Linked DNA regions of Homo sapiens: region 2 is linked to region 1. The links are contacts of gene promoters, found by promoter capture Hi-C in human tissues and cell types (Jung and others, 2019). All regions are on one chromosome and are shown on one strand. Each heading gives the region's core, a stretch centred on a gene start or on the middle of the fragment in contact. The rest is flanking DNA. Distances are from core to core; before and after follow the strand shown.

Region 1 (3,361 bases), core at 52-2,551:
TGGACCTGGTCTGGGTTCTCCCACTTAGTCATGGGCCTTGAAGATTCCCCGAGGCTGCCTCCTGAAAAGGACTGGGGTCCTAGTGGCCCCTGGACGTTGGGCAAGCAAGGGACTGGGCCTCCATGTTGTGCCTCCATAGTCCTGATCCTGAACTGGAAAACTCAGCCCCTGACCACGCAGCTCTCCTTTAAGCCCCTTTGTTTCACATGGTTTTCAAAGTCTGCCACCCACAGTGGGGCTGCCTGTACCCGCCCTGTCCACCCATTGCCCCAGCTGTCAGCCCCTTGACTTCTCTCCTGGGGCTTAAACATCCCTGGCTCCAAAATGGGCAGCTCACTTTCTTCCCCAAGAAGTAGCTGCACCTCCAGGGTTCCTAGATTTGCCCCTCCTTGCCAGGGGGAGGGGTGGCTGCGACAGGAGATTCTCCCTGCTCTCAGCAGAAGGAACTCCAGCAGTTGGAGACCAGCAAACCCCTCTGGACACAGATCTGATTTCCTAACTGGGAAGGCTCAGGGCAAAATAAAAATTCAGGTCCACTGGTTCAAAAACTATGAAGAATTTCAAGACCGTCACAGTAGCCCATTAAACCAAACGTGGATCTGCAAGGGTCCCACAGCCATGAAGCCCACCCTGCTTGGTTGGGTTCCAAAAAGATGGGGACAGTGATTGCTTAAGCTCTGTGGATCAAGGACCCCGGAGAGGCCTTCTGGCTCTCCACATATCTGCTCTGATCACTCCTAAACACAATTCTGTTTCCTCCAGGCCTGGCGGGTCAGTCCAGGGACCCCCATCAGTGTGATGTTTCCAGGAGTAGGCGTTTCAATACTTCCTGTGCTCTCTTCTCCAGCACAAGGCCCCTCTCCATCCCACCCTCATTATGTCTGACTCTTTACTATTTAAATGGGTCAAGAGAAGTGGCGCTTGTGTAATGTGAAGGTTAAGGTCAGTAGGGCCAGGGAACTGTGAGATTGTGTCTTGGACTGGGACAGACAGCCGGGCTAACCGCGTGAGAGGGGCTCCCAGATGGGCACGCGAGTTCAGGCTCTTCCCTACTGGAAGCGCCGAGCGGCCGCACCTCAGGGTCTCTCCTGGAGCCAGCACAGCTATTCGTGGTGATGATGCGCCCCCCGGCGCCCCCAGCCCGGTGCTGCACCGGCCCCCACCTCCCGGCTTCCAGAAAGCTCCCCTTGCTTTCCGCGGCATTCTTTGGGCGTGAGTCATGCAGGTTTGCAGCCAGCCCCAAAGGGGGTGTGTGCGCGAGCAGAGCGCTATAAATACGGCGCCTCCCAGTGCCCACAACGCGGCGTCGCCAGGAGGAGCGCGCGGGCACAGGGTGCCGCTGACCGGTGAGATGTCCCCGTCTTCCCTACCCTTGAGCAGAGCCACACCAGGACGGATGGGCGGGCAGGGGATGGCAGCCAGGCAGAGAGGGATGACACAGCTCGCAGTCACAACCCCTGCGCTTTCGACGGAGCCCAGGAAGCCAGGGAGGGGAGGTGGCCGGAGCCCCATCACCAGGCAGCTGAGCCAGGGGCCCCGGCGCAACCGCCGCCTGAGAGCACGAGCTCCAACCACAATTCTGTGGTGGGGGGGTAAATAGAACAGATATAATGATCATCCTTTCGCAAAGATGGGGAAACTGAGACCTGGAGACCTGCCGCGTTGCGGGAGACCCAGGCTAGCAGGTGACAGAGCTGGCCTGCACCGAGCTCCTTCCTGCAGCATATCCTCTGCGAAGATGCGGATCTCTCAGTTGTGGCTTTCGGCTTGCATGCATGAGTCATCTAGTTTTCTTCTAAATTCTCTAGCTCTCTGGACACTGTTGCCTGTAAGTATGAGGCTGCGGATTTCAGTATATGCTGCAACCACCGAAATCCGACTTTTTCTGCCTCCTAATGCATCTGAGGTGCATCAGAGAAAAGTCACACAAGATCCACCAGGCCTCAGACCTCTGATTCCACAGTCTCATTTTACAGATGATAATCTGAGGCCTGGAGAGGTTTAGGACTGGTGCCAACACTAAACAGCAAATAAGTATCAGAATTGGGATTCGAGCCAAAGCCTCTTGACCTTCCAGAATTTCTGGACCTAGTTAAAAAAAATATGATTTTTATTATTATTTTTTAAACGGAGAGGTTAGGAATTTAAAGGAAAGTACAGATACTATATAAAAAAAGATGCCCATGAAAATGTTAAGTTATAATAATAGTGGAGCATTGGGCACAACTGAAATGGCCAATCTTGTGAGAATGGTAAAATAAACTTAGGTCCGTGAGTAAGTGGAGTATTACATAGCCATAAAAGTATGCCCTTAAAGAATATTTGAAGATGGTGAATGTGAAGAATCTTGTATAAACTGCATGGAAGACAGAAGGAAATATACCACAGTGCTAACCTTTGCCTCTGGGTGATATGAATTACCGGTGATTATTTTTCTTATTTTCCTTTTGGTTTAGTTTTCTCCATTTGAAGAAGCAGATAGGAGCCGGGGCTTTGGGATTGAAACCCTCACCATCTGTGTGCCCTCTTCACTGTCTTCCCATCCTCCCCACGGCTCCCTGTTCACAGTCATTGATTTTCTTTCTTTCTTTTCTCTCTTTTTTTTTTTTTTTCCTGAGACCAAGTCTCACTCTGTTGCCCAGGCTGGAGTAGAGTAGCGCCATCTCGGCTCACTGCAACCTCCGCCATCCGGGTTCAAGCAGTTCTCATGCCTCAGCCTCTGAGTAGCTGGGACTACAGGCGCATGCTGCTACATCCGGCTAATTTTTGTATTTTTAGTAGAGACATGGTTTCACCACCTTGGCCAGGCTGGTCTCGAACTCCTGATCTCAAGTAATCCGCCTGTCTTGGCCTCCCAAAGTGCTGGGGTGACAGGTGTGAATCAATGCGCCCTGCCAGGTCATTGATTTTCTTAAGCCTCCAGCCCTGCCCTGCTTGGAAACGTTTTGGGAAGCTGCTCAGTTCAAAGTTCCCAGGAGGGTGTGCCTGGAGGGGAGTTGCTCCCAAAGTCTGCCTGCTCCCCCCGCCCCCCCTGCCCCCCACCCCCCGCCATCTTCTCCTCCTCCTCTTCCCCTGAGCAGCCCCTTTGTCCACAGAACCGGCCTTTTCTGGTAGAAGGAGCAAGGCCAAGTGGTTTAAGCCTTCTTAGGGAGAATGAGGCTGTGTGGTAGTGCTGGGGACTCGAGGGCCTTGGCCTTGGCATGGCTCTTCCACCCAGGGCAGCTGGCAGCCAGGCTCCCAGGAGGCAGAGGAGATGAGGGGGGAGGTGAGTCCGAGCAAAGGAAAGGAGGTCGGCTGTGCAGTCACGGTTCTAGAACATTCCTTGGATCAGCAGCATCCATATCACCTGCAGACTGGCTGG
Region 2 (3,328 bases), core at 829-3,328, 250 kb before region 1:
GTGCAGGACAAGCCTTTGCCTCCTCAAATGATTAGGTTGGATGGCAGAGGCCACCAAAGATTAATCTGATCACCAGAAGCCGTGGGCATGAAAACGGCTGTTTTGCACGATAGATAATCTATACTTTTTCTGTTTCTCCTTGACATGCTGCTGGCTGGGGAGGTAACTAGTTCTAGATGAGGTAGGAGATGCTCCTGGTTTCCAAGTGAAATTGGTATTTCCCAGATGGTAGGAGTCCAATCCAGATTGCTCAGGGCTGGGAGAATGATGGAGGGAGGGAAGGTTAGAAATAATCATAAATTCTTCTTACTATTGTTTCTAGATGGAATAGCAGAAAAAGGCCAACTCCCAAAATAGACTGCTCCAGCCTGTTATCCACCAGGTAAGAGGGGGACTGCTTTGAGCCTGACCCCTGCACCCCCTCAGGATACCCACCTCCCCAGTGTGTGGAGACACCACCTCCCGCATGCCCCAGTTGCTCCCTGTAGCCATGCTATGGGGGGAGCAGACAGGACTATTGATTTTCAATTCAAAGACATTTAGAGGCAAATTCAACCTACTCTCAATTCTGCTAGGTGTAATTGGTCCAAGCTTTGGAATGAATTACCTTCAAAAAACAGCTGACACTGCACTTAATAATCCAGGGCCTTGGAATGGATCACCCCCAACCCACAACTAATTGGCAGAATGTGGAAAATAAGCACTAACTCATGGAATTCATTAACATTACCACTTAAAGGAATGGTTAAGCTATATGAATTTAGAAATGCAGAAAGTGACACTTACGTGTATCATCTGGCATGGAGTAGTGGAAAATTCCCTGAACTGGGAAGCAGAAGATAAGGGCTCTGTCCCTGAATCTGCCACTTAGGAGATGTGCGTCCTTGGGCAAGCTGCTAAGCCTCTCTGGGACTCAAATTCCTACCTTTGAATGAGATGATCTCTCAGTTCCCTCCCAGATCTGGTATTTTATAACCTTGAAACCTATGTAGCCTAAGACAAAATTCACAATTTCTACGGAAAGATGTTACCAGTAAGAACACTCTTGTATCTTAATGCCATAAACAGAACTGTCTGTTCTGCTCGAGTTGATAGACGGGGCTGCCATCTACATAGTTAGTGGCCTGTCATCTGGGGCCTCCATTGTATTCAGCTTTCTTTCCTCAGCAAGGAGCGTAGTACTTGGCACATAGCAGGACCTCAAATGTTGAGTTCATGAGTAAATGAAGAGTCATGTCTTAATGTAGAAATTCTCAAATTTCAGCAAAGCCTAAGAATGCGATTCCCTTGATCCTACTCTTCCATTTACTAATCTATCTATCTCCTCTTTAAAGCCACATCTCAAAAGAGATTAGCTGGATCGGGCACTGTGGCTCAGGCCTGTAATCCCAGCACTTTGGGAGGCTGAGACAGGAGCATCACTTGAGCCTGGGCAACACAGCGACGAATATTTTTCGTCTCTACGAAAAATATTTTTAAAATTAGCTGGGCATGGTGGAGCGCACCTGCAGTCTCAGCTACTCAGGAGGCTGAGATGGGAGGATCACTTGAGCCCAGGAGTTTGAGGCTGCAGTGAACTATGATCACACCACTGCCCTCCAGCATGGGCCATAGAGCAATACCCTGTCTCTAAAAAATAAACTAATTTTTAAAATTAGAAAATAAAAAGAGTTGACCTGCTGACTCCATTTCCTCACTCCCACTCCCTCCTCAGCATGGTCCAATCCATCCCCCCATTTAGGGCCACTGAAACTTTCCTAGGCTTACCAATGGCATCTTCCTTGGTACACCAAACACATCTTTTGCAGCCTTTATCATATCTGATCAGCATTCAACTCTGTTGTCTGCCTTCTTCTGTTTGTAGAATGAAGCAAAGCCTCGGCTGAGTGCAGCAGCTCACGCCTGTAATCCCAGCACTTTGGGAGGCTGAGGCGGGTGGATCACCTGAGGTCAGGAGTTCAAGACCAGCCTGGCCAACATGGTGAAACCACATCTCTACTAAAAATAAAAAAAAATAGCCAGGCATGGTGGTGGGTGCCTCTAATCCCAGCTACTCAGGAGGCTGAGGCAGAAGGATCACTTGAACCCGGGAGGCAGAGGTTGCAGTGAGCAGGGATCACACCATTGCACTCCAGCCTGGGAGACAACAGCAAAACTCTACCTCAAAAAACAACAACAACAAAAAAAGAAGCAAAGCCTCATCTGTGGCTTTGCTGAAACCACATGTTTAAGGTTTCCCTCTGACCTCTGTTGCTGCCCGTCCTCAGCATCCTTCGCAGGCTCACCTTCCTCTCTGGCCACTGAGTGCTGGAATGCCTCAAAGCTCTGTTCTACAAGCAGTCCTTGGACTATTTCATGCATCTCTATGTGCCACTGACTTGCAAGTGAGCATCTCCAGATGAGACATCTCTGAACATCCAAGCATGTGTCTCCAAGGGCCTCCATTATCACCCAGATATCACAAAGGCCTCTCAAATGCAATCTGGCCAGCTCACTCATAAGGAAATAACCCAGTGAAAAACTAGGCAAAACATTTGAGAAGACAGTTCAGCAAAGAAGATACACGTATATCAAATAAGTGCATGAAAAGATACTCCACACTGTCAAACCACACCACTACACACCCATGAGGAGGGTCAAAATTTCCACACACACACACAAAACCCAAACCTGGCAATACCAATTATGATGCAGGTACACAGCAACTGGAACTCTCATACTCTGCTGGGGGGAATGTGAAATGGCTTAGCCATTTTGGAAAATAGTTGAGCTGTTTTTTATAAAAAGGCCAGGTGAGGTGGCTCACACCTGCAATCCCAGCACTTTGGGAGGCCAAGGCAGAAGGATCACTTGAAGCCAGGAGTTTGAGACCAGCCTGGGCAACAGAGTGAAACCCTACCTCTACAAAAAAATAAGAATAAAAATTAGCCATGCATGGTGGCATGCGCCCAGGACTCCAGCTACTTGGGAGGCTCAGTTGGGTGGATCCTTTGAGCCTAGGAGTTCAAGGCTGCAGTGAGCTATGACTACACCACCGCACTCTAACCTGGGTGAGATGACTGAGACCCTGTCTCTAAAAAAAACAAGATAGTCCTGGCGTGGTAGCTCACACCTGTAATTCCAGCACTTTGGGAGGCCGAGGCAGGTGAATTACTTGAGGCCGGGAGTTCGAGACCAGCCTGATCAACATGGCAAAGCCCATATCTACTGAAAATACCAAAATTAGCCAAGCGTGGTGACGTGCGCCTGTATTCCCAGCTACTCAGGAGGCTGAGACATGAGAATTGCTTTAACCCAGGAGGCAGAGGTTGCAGTGAACTGAGATCGA

What was found. The method cuts DNA at HindIII sites, captures the fragments that hold promoters and counts their contacts. A contact is called where the count stands out against the background at its distance.
Region 2: a contact is called between a fragment that was not itself captured here and the fragment with the promoter of CLU in region 1, in 1 of the 25 tissues and cell types used here (H1 embryonic stem cells).

The regions. Positions count from the first base shown.
Region 1 is chr8:27,612,640-27,616,000 of GRCh38, reverse strand. CLU (clusterin) reads left to right here and starts at 1,301. Exons shown (of 9, transcript NM_001831.4): 1 at 1,301-1,346. RefSeq lists enhancers at 1-213, 1,170-1,669 and silencers at 1,058-1,147, 2,703-2,888. The HindIII fragment of the contact is 13,101 bases long and covers 1-3,361 here.
Region 2 is chr8:27,859,275-27,862,602 of GRCh38, reverse strand. No RefSeq gene overlaps it. Among named protein-coding and RNA genes, the nearest start is that of PBK, 23 kb to the right of the region's middle. The HindIII fragment of the contact is 4,925 bases long and covers 1-3,328 here.